Regions from separate parts of the Homo sapiens genome. Here regions 1, 2, 3, 4, 5 and 6 are each linked to region 7. The links are contacts of gene promoters, found by promoter capture Hi-C in blood cells and fetal thymus (Javierre and others, 2016). All regions are on one chromosome and are shown on one strand. Each heading gives the region's core, a stretch centred on a gene start or on the middle of the fragment in contact. The rest is flanking DNA. Distances are from core to core; before and after follow the strand shown. Region 1 overlaps TSNAX-DISC1 (TSNAX-DISC1 readthrough (NMD candidate)). Region 2 overlaps TSNAX (translin associated factor X). Region 3 overlaps TSNAX-DISC1 (TSNAX-DISC1 readthrough (NMD candidate)). Region 4 overlaps DISC1 (DISC1 scaffold protein). Region 5 overlaps TSNAX-DISC1 (TSNAX-DISC1 readthrough (NMD candidate)). Region 6 overlaps DISC1 (DISC1 scaffold protein). Region 7 holds the start of EGLN1 (egl-9 family hypoxia inducible factor 1).

Region 1 (2,713 bases), core at 162-2,661, 160 kb before region 7:
GGTGGGCAGCTGTAGTCCCAGCTACTCGGAAGGCTGAGGCAGGAGAATGGCAGGAACCCAGTAATTGAAAGAATGGAATTTTATGATTCCATTACATGAAATGTCCATAACAGGCAAATATGTACATATAGAAAGTCGATTAGTTGTTGCCTAAGGCCACGGGGGTGGGGGGCGGTTAAGGGTAATTGAGAGTGGCAGGTAATGGATACTGGTGTCCAAATTTTGGTGGCATCAAAATTTCTCTATAAAAAGGACAACATACTCTCAACCATAGACCAGGAGAAGCTATCAGTAAAGAACTACAAAAAGGAGAGAAGGGGGAAAGAGCAGTTTGGAGAAAGACAATCTAATAGAAAAATGTCAAGAATATAAGGGCAAGTAATATATAGACAAAATCTGGGTGGCAAAAGTTTTCATTGTAAAGATATTCACTATTAGATTAAACCTCATTAAATTGCCAATACTTGATAGTTTTAGCTCACAAAAATGCGATCTCATATAGGTAAAATTAGTAGCAGTAGGAAAATTAAAAATTAAGCGATACTGTCAGCCAAATGTGGTGGCTCGAGTCCATAATTCCAACACTTTGGGAGGCCAAGGCGGGAGGATCACTTGACGTCACGAGTTCAAGACTAGCCTGGGCAACATGGTGAGACTTCATCTCTATAAAAAATAAGAAAATTAGCCAGGCACAGTGGCCTGTGCCTATAGTCCCAGCTACTAGGTAGGTAGAGGCAGGAGGATGGCTTGAGCCCAGGAGTCTGAGACTGCAGTGAGCTATGATCACACCACTGCGCTCCAGCCTGGGCAACAGAGCGAGACCCTGTTTCCCAAAAAAAAAAAAAAAACCATTAAAAATCCATTAGATTGACCATCAGGACTCACAAAATTATGTGGAAACATAAACTATTAGACAGTTGTAGAAGAAAGCTTAGATTGGTAAAAGCACTTTGGCAATATCTAATAAAGTGGAACATACGTATACCCCTAAGACCAAGCAACTTCACTCCTTCATAATCTTCCTAGAGAAATTCTTACATAGGTACACAAGGAGATAAGCCAAAGATATTGTATTACCCAGAGTTCTCCAGAGAAACAGAACCAGAACCAATAGAGAGAGAGAGAGAGAGAGAGAGAGAGAGAGTGTGTGTGTGTGTGTGTGTGTGTGTGTGTGTGTTTAATTATAAGGAATTGGCTCACAGGATTACAGAGGTTGAGAAGTCCCAAGATAGGCAGGTGGCAGGCTGGAGACCCAGGAGAACCATTGTTCAAGTCCAAAGGCCTGAGAACCAGAATAGCTGATGTTATTAATACTAAAAGCCACGAGGCTCCAGACCCAGGAGCTGATGTTTCAGTCTGAGTTTTTTTGTTTGTTTGTTTTTTGAGGCAGAGTTTTGCTCTTGTTGCCCAAGCTGGAGTACAATGGTGTGATCTTGGCTCACTGCAATTTCTGCCTCCCAGGTTCAGGTGATTCTCCTGCCTCAGCCTCCCAAAGTAGCTGGGATTACAGGTACCCGCCACCACGCCCAGCTATTTTTTGTATTTTTAGTAGAGATGGGGTTTCACCATGTTGGCCAGGCTGGTCTTGAATTCCTGACCTCAGGGGATCCACCTGCCTCAGCCTCCCAAAGTGTGGGGATTACAGGCATGAGCCACCACGCCCGGCCAGTCTGAGTCTTAAGGCCAGAAAAGACCAATGTCTCAAGCAGCCAGAGAAGAGGAGTTCCCTCTTACTTAGCTTTTGTGTTCTATTCGGGTCTTCGATTGATGAGCTGAGGTCCACCCACATTAGGAAGGGCAATCTGCTGTATTCAGTCTGCCAATCCAAATGCTAATCTCATCTGGGAACACCCTCACAGGCACACCCAGAGTAATGTTTGGTCAAAAGCTTGGGTGCCCGTAATCCAGTCAAGTGGACACATAAAATTAACCATCACAGATACTCACTTCAGTATTGTTTATAGTATCAAAAACTTGGGCCAGCCATGGTGGCTCACACCTGTAATCCTAGCACTTTGGGAGGCTGAGGCGGGTGGGTCATCTGAGGTCAGGAATTCAAGACCAGCCTGGCCAACATGGTGAAACCCCACCTCTACTAAAAATACCAAAAAAAAAAAAAAAAAAATTAGCCGAGCATGGTGGCAGGTGCCTGAAATCCCAGCTACTTGGGAGGCTGAAGCAGGAGAATCACTTGAACCCGGGGGACAGAGGTTGCAGTGAGTTGAGATCACACCACACCACTTCATTCCAGCCTGGGCGAAAGAGCGAGACTCTGTCTCAAAAAATAAATAAATAAATGAATAAATAAATAAATAAATAAATAACTTGGACATAATCTAATTGTCTATTTATTCTACAAATACTCACTAGGCACGCATATGCCAGGGACCATTCAACATGTTTGGGATACACCAGTGAGTAAAAAAGACAAACATTCCTCTCCTTGGCGAGGTTACATATTAATTAAAGAAGACAAACAATAAGCCTAATACATACGTATGGTACGTATTACTTACGTAATACAGGAAAGCTACTTTCCACAACTTCAAGGATACCATTCATATTATGTTCTATGTAAATGCCACCCTCTGCAAATACGTAAGGCAGTAGTGGGGTGGGGAGTGGGTGGCCAGTGACAATTTAAATTAGAAGATCAAAGTAGGCATTATTAAGTAGGTGACACAGCACAAACTTAAAAGAGATGAGGGAATTA
Region 2 (2,700 bases), core at 48-2,547, 130 kb before region 7:
CTCTGCCAGCCGATGGGACATGCCCACCCTCTCCAGCATGGTCTGGACCTCATCCTGTGAAGGGTGAGGGTTGGGTTCTGCCAAATTTAGTTCCTTGGGTGCTCTGCCTCCGCCCTAGGGGTAGTGGCTGCTCACTCTATCTGAGATTCCAGTACTCTTTAGAGTTCTCTTTTACTCTTATAATCCCCTATATGGTTAATAAGTCTGTATGTTGTATTTAACTTTCCCTGTTCATATTACCATCTAATTTCTGTTTCCTGTTTGGAGCCTGATGAATACAATAAGGAATTAGGAAAATAAATAATGGTATTACTTCTCCTTCAGCCCTACTACCTAGAGAAGGTGTTCCATTTTCTGTGGCTAGTCACTGTATTAGGTTCAGGATCAAGATTCAGTACCAGCTGGGAGCTTCACATGAATTCTCCCTTTAACATACTAGGTGTTCTCACTTTATGTTCTATACTGAATCTTACAGAAATACTGAAACACACTCAGATCTGTCCTATCCATGAACCCTATATTTCCTCTCAACTATTGCTCCATCTGTCTCCTCCTCCTCAGAGCTAAGTTTCTTGAAGTAGCTGGCTACATCATTTCCTCAATAACTTCATCTCACACTTCTCAACCTACTTCAATCTAGCTTGGGTACATCTCTAAAACAAAATAGTTCTTGCTAAGATTACCATAATAAATAAGACTAATGGACATTCTTTCCGTCTTCATCTCGGCAGCATTCAGCATTTTGTGCCACTTCCCCTCTTTGAACAAGTTTTCCTTTGATTCCTTTGACAGCATCATCTCCTGATTTCCCACTTTTCCACCTCTCTAGTCATGTCTTCTTAAGTCTCTGCCTCTATCAGTCCTAGGTTCCCTCCAGTTCATCTATACTTGGTTTCAAGTAACCTTGCTGCCCTTAAACTTCACATCTCTGGCCAACAGGCACTCACATCCAAATGAGTATCTGACATCCTTACCAAAGATACCTCAAAATCAACACTTCCAACAATGAACTCACTACCTTCCTTCCAAACCTGGTTCTCTCAAGTTTTGCCAATTCTAAGCATGTCCTGGTCTCCCCCCATCTATTCTTGACCTCTTCACATCCATTCTCACACTGCAGACTGTCTGCCTTTTTAATATGTTAACGACATCATTCCCCAGTTTAAAGCCCAAATAGCTTCCCATGGCGCTCAGAATACAGGGCAAAACCATTAACGTGGCTTATAAGACCATGCTTAATTTCACCCCCACTTACATTATCAGCCTCAATTCATGCTATAGTTAAGTCATAACTCACAAAGGCTTGCATTTCCAAGATGGGTACATAAACATATATCTGTATGCATGTTGAGCAAAAAATAGCACTGCTTTAAATGGTCAGAATCAAACACAACTGGCAAGGTGCCTGTCTTATACATGGCAATAGGTAGGTAGGGAGACAGTATAAAAAGTAGAACTATGTCAGTTGAAGGCAATACACACATATTTTCCTGAGCCTTGAATAATATTAAATTCAACAAACAGGATAAGCAGCCTTACATGGAAAGGGGGCTGTTATTCTCTCCATCTCGCCCAATGTAACACTGTCGATCCTATTTGTTAAATTTAGTATTATTTCATATGTAGCTGTTGATAAGACCACAAACACTTTAGCAACAACATACTACTAATATTCTGTATCATTCAGCAGTGCCTTGTTGCAGAAACAAATAGCATTTCTGTTTGGCTGCCATATAGTTTAGTTTCATTCAAGTACTTTTTTTTTCATATTTCAGTGGAAGAATAGTTCAAAATATTCCAAATTTTAAAAGTACCATCAAGATCATGGCATCTAGTACTTTTACAACTGAGGCCCAGGCCTGGCATTTAGTTGTACCTAGTTGATTTTACTAATTACAAATTATTTTTAAAAATAAATTCACTAAAACCATTTTCCATGTTTTGAATTGACTCACGGACAAAACAACTTTTTACAACTAATGAAGGTGAACAAACTTTTTTCTTCCATGGACAAATGCATGATATTTTACCATATCATTGTCTCCGTAATTGTCATCTTTGTTCAATAACATTCATTCAGAAGCAGGAGTAGTTTTAAAAATAGTACTTTGCTTTTTGATTGTCTATTGCTTTTCTTTCCCCTCTTCCATTGTGCAACTATGAAATTTAAAATTATTCATCTTTCATTATCCAAGGCTCTTTGGTTCCTCCCCTCAACTTAGCTCCATTTCTACTCTTGCATGTCCAAAAACTCCTTAAGGACTCTATTCTACAAATGGACATCTACCCTGGGACAAAATCCTTAATTATCACAGAGGACCTAGGAAAACAGGAATTTCAGTCTTTCCTTGAGCAGGAGCAAACTCTTAAGATGTGCTTTTACTCCAATCATCTCTGTAAGCCAAATACTGCAATACAGTAAGCAATATTTACTCCCAACAAAATGAATTATGGCATCTTGCTTAAAGAGCTGAAGTGGTTAGAATTCGTTTGATTTTTTTAAAAATTAGCAGTTTCATTTTTATTTTTTCTCCGTTTAATTGTGGTAAAACAAACATAACATTTACCAGCTTAGCCATTTTTAAGTGTACAGTTTAGCATATTAAATACATTCATAATGTTGTACAACCATTATTACCATTCATCTACAGAATTCTTGTATTAATCTTTCCAAAATGAAACTCTGGACCTAGCATTTCT
Region 3 (2,700 bases), core at 122-2,621, 190 kb before region 7:
TGTGTCTTCTTAATGAGAGAGAGGGGACCTCCCTGTCCCCCAAAACTGATGCACATTGCAACCATCAGAAGCTTTTAAATGCCCCAATTCAACAGCCATATTAGAAGATCTCAGGAGGCTCTGCAGGCAGTTTCAAAGACAGCGTCTGTAAGTGGACCACTGTCCAAAGTCAGGAGTTCATCTCATTAATGAAGTGCTTGACGTTAAGCCACTCACCTTTTTCCCATCTCGTCCATGTTCCTCATGTGTTACACAGTGAGTAAAGTAATCGTGTGCTTTAATCTTCTCTTGCAGATGCTGTTAATGGTGAGGTCTCTGTAAGGCTATTCCAGGGGAAGAAAGGTTCATGCCATTCAGCTAATTTGAAATTTGAATTCAAGAATTGATTAGGGGTTCTTTCTCCAATTAAATGTGTGTGTTTGGGGATACATCACTTAATTTTCTAGCTTCCTTCTTTGAAAACAAAGGGGAAACCAGATGAGTGGCTTTTAAACTTTTGTTTCATGGCTGGTTGCTAAAAATTTAAGAAAAAACAAGAAGGTGAGATATATAATGACACTAACATTTTATTTTGCCAAGTAAATTTACTTTTTTTTTTTTTTAAGATAGAGTTTTGCTCTTTTTTGCCCAGGCTGGAGTGCAATGGCTCAATCTCGGCTCACTGCAACCTCTACCTCCTGAGTTCAAGCAATTTTCCTGCTTCAGCCTCCCGAGTAGCTGGGACTACAGGCACACGCCACCATCCCCAGCTAATTTTGTATTTTTAGTAGAGACAGGGTTTCACCATGTTGGCCAGGCTGGTCTTGAACTCCTGACCTCGGGTGATCTGCCTGCCTGAGCCTCCCAAAGCGCTGGGATTACAGGCGTGAGCCACCGCACCCAGCCATACATTTCTTTAAAAAAAAAAAACTTCTACCAACTACCATCGCCACTATTTCATATAGAAAAGCCTTCTTTTAACCTCAAAAAAATAATACATATGTGATAGAAGCTAGGACAGTTCCTTAAAAACAGTGAATTTTGCTTTCTCAAAAGCTCATTTATCCTGGTTTTTCCTTTCTTTTTTATTTTGTCCTGGCTGGTGAAACTTCCATAGTAGGTAGAACCAGTCCCCAGCTGTGGTCTTAGGGACCAAGTAATGAGACAGCCCCTGAGCTGAGGAAGCCAGAGAACTTCTCTTTTCGGTGTGATGCAGAGTTTGCAAAAATAAGCTCATGAATATTATTAAGCTTTATGTTATGAGAATGTTTACCCGTTTTCAAGTATAAACCTGTTTGTAAGATTTTGAATTTCAGATTTGGCCTTTCAGAGGACAAAACTGGAACATAGGCATAAGAACTAAACTACCAGTAGCCACAGAGGCACTCACCAAATATTTCTGAGTTGCTGGCATCCAGACACATAGTGGGAATGCCTTCCCAACCTCTCTGAAGCTGAGGATGGCCATGTGACTGGCTTTGGTCAGGGAAATGTGAGCAGAGGAGATATGCTTCCCATCTGGGCGGAAGCTTTAGAAGCCAGTGCTTGATTCATCACTCTTTTTCTGCCTCTATAGTATAAAAGTCTTCAGATGGAGCTTCTGTCAGCCTTGATCCCAAGAGCCTCTGTGAGTAGGATCTTGCCTGTAAACTTCTATAAAACATAAAACATGAACAAGAGAAAAGGAAGCATACATTGAATTAAGCTACTGAGACGTAGGTATCTTTGTTGCCACCGGATAACCTATCTCATCTTGATTAGTCTACCAAAGTTCTCTCAGTTCTGAAAGCCTGTACATGAATGGCCACACGATGTCTCAGATCGTAAGTTGTGGAACTGGAGCTGCTTTCACCAACAATACTGTCGTCAACAGCACTCACGTTCTTCAATCATGCTGCCTCCCCCAAATCCTAACTAAAGTGGTTCTAATATTGAGCAAGGCATTATTCCAGAAATGAAATCCAAGGCTTGGCAATAGTCAGAGCACATGAGGGCAGGATCATGACAACATGGGGAAGAGAAGATTTCACATGGTAGAGCACTCCTTGGGGGATTTCCTTGCTCTAGGTTGGAATCAGAAGGTTAAAAGACTTCCAATCTGGTTTCAAAATGTTTTATGGGACTTAAAGAAATCTTAAAGGGGAAGAGGAGACTTTTCTTTCATTCATCAGGCATCTGGGACTATGGATACAATGGCTGGAGCTCTAGACGCCATCTTGAACCTTGAAGACAAAGCCACAGCTTAGTAATGGCAAAGCAGATAACTGGAATTAGTCTGGTTCCATGACAACTTTGTGGGGTTGCCATATCCCTGCTGGATTGCCTTCCTTTAGATTTCCTTTATGGGACAGAGAAAAATTGTTACCTTGTTTATGCCACCATTAGTTGTTTTTTCTTATATGAAGCCAAGCCTAAATCTAACATTATATACCATTTTTTTTTCATTATTTGAAAGATACTGTTTATCTCATTCTTTTAAAAATTTTTGGCTTTTTGGATTTTTACAATTTAAAATAATGTATATAATTTATTTTAAAAGAAATATGAGGGCTGGGCATGGTGGCTCATGCCTGTAATCTCAGCACTTTGGGAGGCCGAGGTGGGTGGATCACCTGAGGTCCAGAGTTCGAGACCAGCCTGGCCAACATAGTGAAACCCCGTCTCTACTAAAAATACAAAAATTAGCTGGACGTGGTGGCAGACACCTGTAATCCCAGCTAC
Region 4 (2,700 bases), core at 169-2,668, 210 kb before region 7:
CCCAAACAATTCAACAACAACAACAAAATAATTCCATTAAAAAGTGTGAAAAGGACATGAATAGACATTTTTCAAAAGAAGACATACAAATGGAAAACATGTTCAACATTACTACTAATCAAAGAAATGCAAATTGAAACCACAATGAGATGTCATCTTATGCCAGTCAGAATGGCCATTATTAAAAAGTCAAAAAATAACAGATATTGAAGAGAATGCAGTGAAAAGTGAAAAGGGAAATTTTAAACACTATTGGTGAGAATGTAAATTATTAAAATCTCTATGGAAAAAAGTATGGAGATTTCTCAAAGAACTAAAAATAAAACTACCATTTAATATAGCAATCCTACTATTGTGTATCTACCCAAAGGAAAATAAATCAATGTATCAGAAAAATACCTGGACTCACATGTTTATCACAGCAATATTCACAACAGCAAAGATATGGAATCAACCTAGATGTTCATCAACAGAGAACTGGATAAAGAAAATACGGTATACATACAAAAGGGAAAACTATTCAGCCATACAAAATGAACTCATGCCTTTTCCAACAACATCGATGGAACTGGAAACCGTTATCTTAAATGAAACAAGTCAGACACAGAAACACAAATATCACATGGTCTCACCTACAAGTGGGAGCTAAATCATGTCCACACGTGGATGTAGAAAGTGGAATAACAGACAATGGAGACTCAGAAGGGTGAGGATAGGAGGAGTGAAGGATGAGAAATTACTCAATGGGTACAATGTACATTATTTGGGTGATGGACATCCTAAAAGCCCCGACTTGACCATTAGGCAAACTATGCATGTAATGAAATTGCACTGTACCCCATAAATTTATATAAATAAAAAACTAATCATTTGACCGAGCAATCCCATTACTGGGTGTATACCCAAAGGCTTGTAAATCATTCTACTATAAAGATACATGCACACGTATGTTTACTGCAGCACTATGTACAATAGCAAAGACTTAGAACCAACCCAAATGCCCATCAATGATAGACCGGGTAAAGAAAATGTGGCACATATACACCAAGGAATACTATGCAACCATAAAAAAGGATGAGTTCATGTCCTTTGCAGGGACATGGATGAAGCTGGAAACCATCATTCTCAGCAAACTAACACAGGAACAGAAAACCAAACACCCCATGTTCTCACTCATAAGTGGGAATTGAACAATGAGAACACATGGACACAGGGAGGGGAACATCACATACCAGGGCCTGCTGGGGGGTAGGGGTCAAGGGGAGGGAGAGCATCAGGACAAATACCTAATGCATGTGGGGCTTAAAACCTAGATGACAAGTTGATAGGTGCAGCAAACCACCATGGCACATGTATACCTATGTAACAAACCTGCATGTTCTGCACATGTATCCCAGAACTTAAAGTAAAATTTAAAAAGCAGAATAAAATTTTAAAGGTAGTGTCAATATAAATTCATACCAAGATTAGCTGAAGGGAAAGTAACTCCCATAAGACATCTCATTTTGTTTCCACTGAGCCTGTTCTGACTCCTTGAAATGGCAGAAACAGGGGTAATAACAATATCTTTTATCATGTATTACCTTATGCTTTTCAAAAAAAGTTTCAAAAACACAATAAATATTTGAATAAATGCACTTAGATAATCCCAAATCAGAGTCAAGAAAATATATAAAAGTTAAATTCAAATGATAGAATTTGTCCATTTTTCCATTCAAATTACAATTTAAGTCAAGTAAAGAAAGACATACAAAAGCTGCATGATTAGGAGGGAGTGCAGCGCTCATCCTCCTGTCCCCAAGGCCGATTAGCCAGCTGGGTGAGAGATGAGATCATGAGTTCTGGGCCAATGAGTCACTGCCCTTCACCATTGCCCCCAGACACAAACAGCTGCAGGTCTCCCAAAGCGTGTGTCCACCCTACGGAGCTGCCACCCTACAGAGGAGAAAATGTGGGTGAAAGTAAGCAAAAGCAACATCACAACCATGAAATTAACTCAGTGTTCTACAAATGGAGAATTATATATCTCTTTCTGAATGAAGAGCAGCATATTTCATACACAGTGTGGAAATAAACATTGAGTAAATTGTTTTCAAAATTGTCATACCTAGGAGTAAACCCAGCAATAGGTAAATTATAAATTAAAGGAGCCCTTCTTTCTTCCTCCATCTATCCATCCATCTAGACTGTAAGGTATTTATTAGGCATCTACTGGTGCTAAATACTTCTTAATGATTTTAGTACACCCCGATGTGCCCAGTCCTTCTGATGAAACAATATCCGGAAACTTCATGAGAATGAATTCTCTTTTTTCCACGGGACTATAGGCTTCTCAATGGTGTAGACAACACTATCTATTTGAATTTACATATCAATTTACACATATATATACAAACATAAGTATATATATTTTTTATATTCAAGAGCTATCATAGTATCTGACTATATAGTGTATGCATCTCAATAAATATTTAAACTGAACTGAACTTCTGAAACTCCTGATTGGTTTCAAAAGATATAAAAATAATAGACTTGGTTAATCTATGCATTGGATTAATACATCCTAAATATAATTAAGAGTTTGGTCTAATCCAGTGAGAACAGAGTAAACCATAAGTGTACTACATAGATGAGGGAGTAAGGAGATAAACCAGAACTGAAACCTTGAGTTGAAGAAGTCTACATTGGAGTCAGAAAAAC
Region 5 (2,700 bases), core at 173-2,672, 170 kb before region 7:
GTCCCAGCTCCTCAGGAGGCTGAGGCAGGAGAATTGCTTGAACCCAGGAGGTGGAGGTTGCAGTGAGCCAAGATCGTGCCACTGCACTCCAGCCTGGCAACAAAGTAAGACTCCGTCTCAAAAATAAATAAATAAATAAAATTAATTAATTAAAATAAAATAAAGAAGACCACAGACTAGAACCCACGATTGCTGACTCGGTCCAGATTATTTCCATACACAAGTTAAAGCATGTGGACCACAAAAATAAAAGTCTTTACAAAGACACTGGGGAAAAAAGTGTTCATATGTAGAAAAAAATAAAGATATTCTGGGGGGGAAAAGGGCTGGGAGTACAATTTGTATATTGACTAAACCAGTTTTGTAGCAAAGCCAATAACTGTCTTTTATTTGTTTGTTTGTTTTTGTTTATTCTCCTGTGGTGCCTTCAAAATATAATTATGGAGATAATTTCCTCTATCCCTGAATGGATACTTGGGCAAATCTCATGACTTCTGCATTCACTCTTAGATAATGGATGGTTCTACAGTGTTAAGATCATAAAATCAGCATTGGTTTAGTAACTTGTACAGGTTCAGTCCAAGATACTAACAAGCCATTCAGTCCTCATTCAGAGTCTTTCTCTTCTTGGCTAAGTGAGGTCTAAAGACTGCCTGCTTTGGAGAAGAAGGTGTGGGCGTCTTCTCCTCTTCTGCATTCTCCCACTAGCTGCTGTTTGGGGCCCTTCCTGGGGAGAGGCAATGGATTCTACTTAGCTGGGTGGCTCCCTGCACTCTGGGCTTGACACAGTGAAAGCAAACTCTTACTTCCACGAAGCAATTTCATGGGCTTTTGTTTTCTTTTTAATTACCCAATTGCTGAGGCCTCTCACCTAATTCTCAGGCTTTGAACAAAACATTCCACCCCCCAGGCTGCTTTTCCCCACTGTGCACTCCACATGGCTTCATGCTGCTGCAGACTCCACCCTTCCCAGTGGCTCCCCAGGCAGCACTCACAAACTGCTCTCGCCAGCTCTCCCGCGGAGGGGCCTACTCTGGGGGACAGGAAATATTGAGAGACCTTGGCCTTGATATTCCAGAGGTAACAGCACGCTCCTGACCTCACTGCTGGTTGGTGAACCTGCCTCTTAGCCCCTCCATTTCCTAAGGTGTCAACCCCATTCTGAATGTGCCCCAACTTCAGCAAACACAAATCAAGCTCATGGACAATCCTACTGAAGCCCTTTCCCCAGCCACGGGCGGAGTGGAGGAGAAGAGGAGAGTCTGGAGACAAATACGCCTCCTCTGACTATACTGGAATCCCCCTCTTTTTCATTACTTTGTATGTGGTATTACATACAACATAAAACTTAGCATTTTTACCATTTTCAAATGTATAGCTCGGTTGTATTAACTATATTCACACTGCTGTGCAACTATAACCGCCGAACAATCTCCAAAATTCTTTTAATCCTCCCACACTGAAACTCTGTACCCAGAGTTTCTAACATGAACTCCCCCACCCCCGACTCCCAGTCCCTGGCACCTACCATTTGAACTTCCTGTCTCTATGAATCTGACTTCTCTAGGAACCTCATGTAAGTGGAATCATACATTATTTCTTTTTATGACTGGCTTATTCTACTGAGTACAATATCCTCAAGGTTCATCCATGTTATAGCACGTGTCAGGATGGAATAATATTCCATTGTGTGGAGAGACCACACTTTGTTTTTTCATTCAACCATCAGTGGACACTTGAGATGCTTCTACCTTTCAGCTATTGTGAATAATGCTGCTCTGAACATGGGTGTACAAACATCTGTTCTCGTCTCCTTACCCCTGACCCTTTCTAAGTTTTGCCCACGTGGGGTTCAGTCTTAACACTCATTTTTGTATTTGTTGTCCATTACACATTAGTGTCTCAACTGATATCACACAAAAAGAAACACATCTAACATTCTGTTAGGTCAAGACCCAAAGATAACCTTAGGCTCTATTCAAAGTCCTCTAACTTTTTTTTTTTTTTTTTTTTGAGAGGGAGTCTCATTCTGTCTCCCAGGCTGGAGTGCAGTGGCACGATCTCAGCTCACTGCAACCTCCACCTCCCAGGTTCAGGCAATTCTTCTGCCTCAGCCTCCCAAGTACCTGGGACTACAGGCACGTGCCACCACGCCCGGCTAATTTTTGTATTATTAGTAGAGACAGGGTTTCACCATGGTGGCCAGGCTGGTCTCGAACTCCTGGCCTCGTGATCTGCCCCCCTTGCCCTCCCAAAGTGCTGGGATTACAGGCGTGAGCCACCGCGCCCAGCTGTAAAGTCCTCTAACTTTAAACACTGCACAGGTCTTAACCCTCTGGGGAGGTTTTCCTCTGGAGGCTCCTGTCTGCACTTCCTAGTTAAGGTTTTCGATATGGATTGGTCCCAGTCAGCTCCTCAAAAATACAACCAAATATTAACATAAAGTTACCATGTGACCCAGCAATTCCATTCCTTGATACACACCCAGAAGAAATGAAACTATGTCCACATAAAAACTTGTAGACAAACGTTTATAGCTAGCATAAAACTCATGACAGCTGAAAAGTGGACACAATCCAAATGTCTTTCCACTGATGAATGGATACTCAAAACTGGCATATCCATTCAGTGAAATACTATTTAGCCATAAAAACAATGAAGTACTGATACAGCTACAATATAAATGAACCTCATATTAAG
Region 6 (2,700 bases), core at 7-2,506, 230 kb before region 7:
AAAGGAAAAGCTTATATACTTCTGGTGGTAACATAAATCAGTATAACCTCTATGGAAAACAGTATGGAGATTTCTCAAAGAACTAAAAGTAGATCTACCATTCAATCCAGCAATCCCACTACTGGACTAGGTACCCAAAGGAAAAGAAGTCATTACATCAAAAAGACACCTGCATGCATATGATTATCACAGCACAATTCACAATTGCAAAGCTATGGAACCAACCTAAGTGCCCATCAATCAATGAGTGGATGAAGAAAATGTGGTATATATACACCATGGAATACTAGTTAGCCATAAAAAAGAATGAAATAATGTATTTTACAGCAACTCAGATGGAACTGAATGCCATTATTCTAAGTGAACTAACTCAGGAGTGGAAAACCAAACACTGTACTTTCTCATTGGTAAATGGGAGCTAAGCTATGGATACACAAAGGCACACAAAGTGATATAATGGACTTTAGAGACTCAGAATAGGGGAGTGTGGGAGGGGCGACTTTAAAAGTTACATATTGGGCACAATGTACGCAACTTGGGTACACTAAAATTTCAGACTTCAGGACTATACCATTCATCCATGTAAGCAAAAACCACTTGTACTCCTAAAGCTATTAAAATACTTTTTTAAAAAAAGAATTTGTTGGTTTGCAAGCATAAAATGAAAGGGAATAGAGTCCAGATGTTTGTCCAGAAACTTCTGAGTGTAAAGCCTTGGAAGAAATGACTGCTTCTAAAGTCTGAGGAGTAAGAAACAAGATTGAAAAGGCTTTTGAGTGACACAGGTAAAAGATTCAGCCTTGTAGCAAAGAGCTAATTAAGAATTTTGCCTTCCCATCTGACCCTGAAGGCCTCAAGGAAGTCACCATCTCATTGACAGAAAAGGGTATTAGGGTGAGAAAGTAATATAATAATTCAAGCTTGGTAATAATATCTAGGAAAAAAACTTAGGGATTTGCTATTGGCATAAAAAACTTAAGGGAAGAAAACAGAACAGAAACAAGTAATCCAAGCACAGAAAGAAAAATACTGCATGATCTCAGTTACAGGTGTAATCTAAAAAAAGTCGGAAGTAGAGAATAGAATGGTGGTTAGCAGGGGCTGGGGCAAGGGTAGAAGTGGATGGGAAGATGTTAGTCAAAGTATACAAAGCTTCAGTTAGACAGAAGGAATAAGTTCTTAAGATTTATTCCACAGCATGGTGACTATAGTTAATAATAATGCAATATATTTCAAAATTGCTAAGAATTTCATACCACACACACACAAAAATTTCATACCACACACACACGTGAAATGATGGATATGTTAATTAGCTTGGTTTAATCATTTCATAGTGAATAAATATATGAAAGCTTCACATTGTACCCCATAAATATGTAAATTATTTGTCAAAAATAAAAGTAATTAATTTAAAAAAAAAACAGAATCCTATCAAATTTTTGACATAAATGTATGGCCAAAGAAACCATGAGCCTGGACTAAAAATAAAATTTTTTAAAGACGTTTGTCTATTTGAGCCTTGAAACAACAGCAGGGCACTAGAGGGCTGCAAAGCTGTGTACCCTCCTAAGATGGCGGACTCCCCTGCAATCACTTCAAACGTAGCCATTGAGAATAAAGTGCAAGAAGGAACTTGCCAGGACAGAGCTCGGACCATGGAGACCAACTGAGAAGAGATTGCCTTTTCTGGCAAAATCAAGGTCTAATCAAGAAAGTTCTCCCACCCTCTGGTTGAGAACCTCCACCTTGCCCACCCAACTGGATTCCATTGTTGCTTTGGGCCTGTGATGACTGTGCTGCCCGCTCTTTACTCTGTTCTAAATGGGAGCTTCTAATGTTACAATGCTTCCCTGCTTCATTGAAAATTGGGAGGCGCTAGGGAGGAGGCAAATAACTTTATTCTCTTCTAGTTCATAAGTCATCAAACCACAAGGATCCTCATTTAGATGTGATGGGGAAGACAGCACATCACCCAGAGATCCTGAACAGTGACTAAGCAAGGTGCCAGGGCTGGATGGGACTTAGGGTCCCTCACTCTGGGAGGGGTGTGTTCTGTGTGTGAGGGGAAAAGCAAAACAGGAATTTGGTAAACAGTAGGGGAAGCTCTGTTAGAGACTAGCTAGTATTCACCAAATGTATTTCCTTTCCTCCCACACACACAGATGAGTGGCATTTCCCAGCCTCCCTTGCAGTTTTGTATGGCCATGTGACATTCTGGCCAATGGAATGGGGGCAGAAGCAGTATCTGCCACTTCCAGTTCTGATCCATTAAAACCTCCTGTGACATCTTCTTCACTTTCTCTTCCACTATCAGCCAGCTAAGCAGCAAGGGCCAGGGCAACCTTGCAAACCACACGCTGGAGAGGGCCTGAGTCCCTGCATGGCCATGCAAGGCACAGCAGCCCCTCCACGCAAGCCTGGTACCTCAAGGTAACCATCAGCAAATGGAGAGAACCTAAACTTTACATAAGGAGAAATAAACTTCTGAGGTGTTAAGCCACTGAGATTTCAGAATATATGCTTTAGAACTAGCATCACCTTAAATACAAAAACTTAATACTGGCATGTTCTAAAGGTCAACAACTATGAACATTCCAATTTAATGTAACTGGATGAGTAAATTATGGTGTCAGCATGGAATACTGTGTAACCATTAGGCCGGGCACAGTGGCTCACACCTGTAATCCCTCCCTTTGG
Region 7 (2,725 bases), core at 177-2,676:
CTAAATTCTTTACAGAAACTTGGATTTTTAGTTCGGTTTGAAATTTGAAGATGTGAGTATATTTATCTCAGTTTCCCAAAGGACAAGCTAATTGGAATTATCATCCTCTTTCACTTGATTGGATCCCCAGAATGCCATTTACGCATGCAGCAGGATTTTATAACAGTTTTAAATTCTGTATATTTGATGAAGAGGTTTTATATTTTTGGATTCAAGCCTCTTTTTAAACTTCTACAATATGGTTTACAATAATTCCTTATATCCTGCTTTTGAAATACATATTACAACTTTTTAAGTTTGGAAGGCTATATTTCAAGGACTGAAGTTACAGTATACTCAAGTGATACACAAGCCTAGCACCCCACTTTCCACATAGTGTTCGATAAAGATTGATAAACTCGAAATCACAGACCTTTTAATTCTTAAGACAAATAGCAGCAGAAAGAAACATCTTTGGCTTATTTCTGGTAAGGTTTTTATGCTCTGTAAAACAAAGAATTGTATTCATCCGCGCAGCACAGATTCTATTAAAAATAAATGTGAGAGTCGTTAATGTAGTACTGCTCATTTACCATCAAAATTCACTTTTCAGGAATAATCCCATCAGTTTAAATTGGATATTGGAATGAGCATTGATTACATTTAACTTGGTAGCCCAAAATTTCTTCATGGGGTTTTGAACTCGGCGGGATTTCAAAGGTTTTAAAAATGAGTTTTTGATTTTTTTTAAAACCCTCAAATTTCATTACCTTTAAACTAGGTCGAAACGGGGCGCAAGAGATTGGATTAACACCATAGTAATACTTATTTTGTTCTTAACCATTTCAGGGCTTCTTGAAATAGAGGCTGTATGGTGTAATGGAAAAAACAGCCTTGGAATCTGGGAGCCTGATTCCTGGATTCAGTCCCAGTTTTGCGTGACCTTGGGCAAGTTACTTTACTTCTCTGAATTTCCGTTTCCTCCTCTGCAAAATGAGGATCGCAATAGCCACCTTGCAACCTTGACTGGAGCGAGCCTCGCACACCCCGCGCCGGCCTGGAGGAAGAGCAGCCATGATTACGCCGCCTTCGCTCCGCTACCCGCTTGCGGCTGGCGCCCTCCTCCAGCAGGTGTAGGCGCTGCCGCGCTGCCCCACGCCTTTCCGCCGCTCGCGGGCCTGCGCCTCGGCGTCCCCGAGGAGGCCGCTGCGGGCTGAGGTAGCGCACCGGCCTCTCGGCGTCCCAGTCCGGTCCCGGGCGGAGGGAAAGCGGGCGACCCACCTCCGAGGCAGAAGCCGAGGCCCGGCCCCGCCGAGTGCGGAGGAGCGCAGGCAGCCCCCGCCCCTCGGCCCTCCCCCCGGCCCTCCCGGCCCTCCCTCCGCCCCCTCCGCCCTCGCGCGCCGCCCGCCCGGGTCGCCGCGGGGCCGTGGTGTACGTGCAGAGCGCGCAGAGCGAGTGGCGCCCGTATGCCCTGCGCTCCTCCACAGCCTGGGCCGGGCCGCCCGGGACGCTGAGGCGGCGGCGGCGGCCGAGGGGGCCGGTCTTGCGCTCCCCAGGCCCGCGCGCCTGAGCCCAGGTTGCCATTCGCCGCACAGGCCCTATTCTCTCAGCCCTCGGCGGCGATGAGGCGCTGAGGCGGCTGCCGGCGCTGCGCCGGAGCTTAGGACTCGGAAGCGGCCGGGCCGAGGGCGTGGGGTGCCGGCCTCCCTGAGGCGAGGGTAGCGGGTGCATGGCGCAGTAACGGCCCCTATCTCTCTCCCCGCTCCCCAGCCTCGGGCGAGGCCGTCCGGCCGCTACCCCTCCTGCTCGGCCGCCGCAGTCGCCGTCGCCGCCGCCGCCGCCGCCATGGCCAATGACAGCGGCGGGCCCGGCGGGCCGAGCCCGAGCGAGCGAGACCGGCAGTACTGCGAGCTGTGCGGGAAGATGGAGAACCTGCTGCGCTGCAGCCGCTGCCGCAGCTCCTTCTACTGCTGCAAGGAGCACCAGCGTCAGGACTGGAAGAAGCACAAGCTCGTGTGCCAGGGCAGCGAGGGCGCCCTCGGCCACGGAGTGGGCCCACACCAGCATTCCGGCCCCGCGCCGCCGGCTGCAGTGCCGCCGCCCAGGGCCGGGGCCCGGGAGCCCAGGAAGGCAGCGGCGCGCCGGGACAACGCCTCCGGGGACGCGGCCAAGGGAAAAGTAAAGGCCAAGCCCCCGGCCGACCCAGCGGCGGCCGCGTCGCCGTGTCGTGCGGCCGCCGGCGGCCAGGGCTCGGCGGTGGCTGCCGAAGCCGAGCCCGGCAAGGAGGAGCCGCCGGCCCGCTCATCGCTGTTCCAGGAGAAGGCGAACCTGTACCCCCCAAGCAACACGCCCGGGGATGCGCTGAGCCCCGGCGGCGGCCTGCGGCCCAACGGGCAGACGAAGCCCCTGCCGGCGCTGAAGCTGGCGCTCGAGTACATCGTGCCGTGCATGAACAAGCACGGCATCTGTGTGGTGGACGACTTCCTCGGCAAGGAGACCGGACAGCAGATCGGCGACGAGGTGCGCGCCCTGCACGACACCGGGAAGTTCACGGACGGGCAGCTGGTCAGCCAGAAGAGTGACTCGTCCAAGGACATCCGAGGCGATAAGATCACCTGGATCGAGGGCAAGGAGCCCGGCTGCGAAACCATTGGGCTGCTCATGAGCAGCATGGACGACCTGATACGCCACTGTAACGGGAAGCTGGGCAGCTACAAAATCAATGGCCGGACGAAAGTAAGTGTGT

Evidence for each region. The method cuts DNA at HindIII sites, captures the fragments that hold promoters and counts their contacts. A CHiCAGO score of 5 or more calls a contact.
Region 1: a contact is called between a fragment that was not itself captured here and the fragment with the promoter of EGLN1 in region 7, in 16 of 17 cell types (megakaryocytes, endothelial precursors, naive CD8 T cells and 13 more). The highest score is 13.0, in megakaryocytes.
Region 2: a contact is called between a fragment that was not itself captured here and the fragment with the promoter of EGLN1 in region 7, in 13 of 17 cell types (total CD8 T cells, naive CD8 T cells, naive CD4 T cells and 10 more). The highest score is 10.8, in total CD8 T cells.
Region 3: a fragment that was not itself captured here is called in contact with the fragment with the promoter of EGLN1 in region 7 in 12 of 17 cell types (naive CD4 T cells, total CD8 T cells, non-activated CD4 T cells and 9 more); the score reaches 11.5 in naive CD4 T cells.
Region 4: a contact is called between a fragment that was not itself captured here and the fragment with the promoter of EGLN1 in region 7, in 4 of 17 cell types (neutrophils, non-activated CD4 T cells, activated CD4 T cells and 1 more). The highest score is 6.2, in neutrophils.
Region 5: a fragment that was not itself captured here is called in contact with the fragment with the promoter of EGLN1 in region 7 in 14 of 17 cell types (naive CD8 T cells, neutrophils, total CD8 T cells and 11 more); the score reaches 10.5 in naive CD8 T cells.
Region 6: a contact is called between a fragment that was not itself captured here and the fragment with the promoter of EGLN1 in region 7, in 1 of 17 cell types (total B cells). The highest score is 5.1, in total B cells.

The regions. Positions count from the first base shown.
Region 1 is chr1:231,577,090-231,579,802 of GRCh38, reverse strand. The region is part of intron 4 of TSNAX-DISC1 (TSNAX-DISC1 readthrough (NMD candidate)); the gene reads right to left. Among named protein-coding and RNA genes, the nearest start is that of LINC00582, 34 kb to the left of the region's middle. The HindIII fragment of the contact is 958 bases long and covers 933-1,890 here.
Region 2 is chr1:231,555,427-231,558,126 of GRCh38, reverse strand. The region is part of intron 4 of TSNAX (translin associated factor X); the gene reads right to left. All of the region lies in intron 4 of TSNAX-DISC1 (TSNAX-DISC1 readthrough (NMD candidate)), which reads right to left. Among named protein-coding and RNA genes, the nearest start is that of TSNAX, 28 kb to the right of the region's middle. The HindIII fragment of the contact is 3,130 bases long and covers 1-2,700 here.
Region 3 is chr1:231,615,576-231,618,275 of GRCh38, reverse strand. It overlaps TSNAX-DISC1 (TSNAX-DISC1 readthrough (NMD candidate)), which reads right to left. Exons shown (of 16, transcript NR_028393.1): 5 at 1,370-1,632. Among named protein-coding and RNA genes, the nearest start is that of LINC00582, 4.8 kb to the right of the region's middle. RefSeq lists a silencer at 127-327. The HindIII fragment of the contact is 279 bases long and covers 1,232-1,510 here.
Region 4 is chr1:231,635,512-231,638,211 of GRCh38, reverse strand. All of the region lies in intron 1 of DISC1 (DISC1 scaffold protein), which reads right to left. The region is part of intron 5 of TSNAX-DISC1 (TSNAX-DISC1 readthrough (NMD candidate)); the gene reads right to left. Among named protein-coding and RNA genes, the nearest start is that of DISC1, 10 kb to the right of the region's middle. The HindIII fragment of the contact is 3,046 bases long and covers 1-2,700 here.
Region 5 is chr1:231,594,722-231,597,421 of GRCh38, reverse strand. The region is part of intron 4 of TSNAX-DISC1 (TSNAX-DISC1 readthrough (NMD candidate)); the gene reads right to left. The region is part of intron 1 of LINC00582 (long intergenic non-protein coding RNA 582); the gene reads left to right. Among named protein-coding and RNA genes, the nearest start is that of LINC00582, 16 kb to the left of the region's middle. The HindIII fragment of the contact is 5,790 bases long and covers 1-2,700 here.
Region 6 is chr1:231,653,038-231,655,737 of GRCh38, reverse strand. The region is part of intron 1 of DISC1 (DISC1 scaffold protein); the gene reads right to left. All of the region lies in intron 5 of TSNAX-DISC1 (TSNAX-DISC1 readthrough (NMD candidate)), which reads right to left. Among named protein-coding and RNA genes, the nearest start is that of DISC1, 28 kb to the right of the region's middle. The HindIII fragment of the contact is 203 bases long and covers 1,155-1,357 here.
Region 7 is chr1:231,420,988-231,423,712 of GRCh38, reverse strand. It overlaps EGLN1 (egl-9 family hypoxia inducible factor 1), which reads left to right and starts at 1,426. Exons shown (of 5, transcript NM_022051.3): 1 at 1,426-2,715. The coding sequence starts at 1,825. RefSeq lists silencers at 961-1,285, 1,041-2,220 and an enhancer at 2,601-2,725. The HindIII fragment of the contact is 5,790 bases long and covers 1-2,725 here.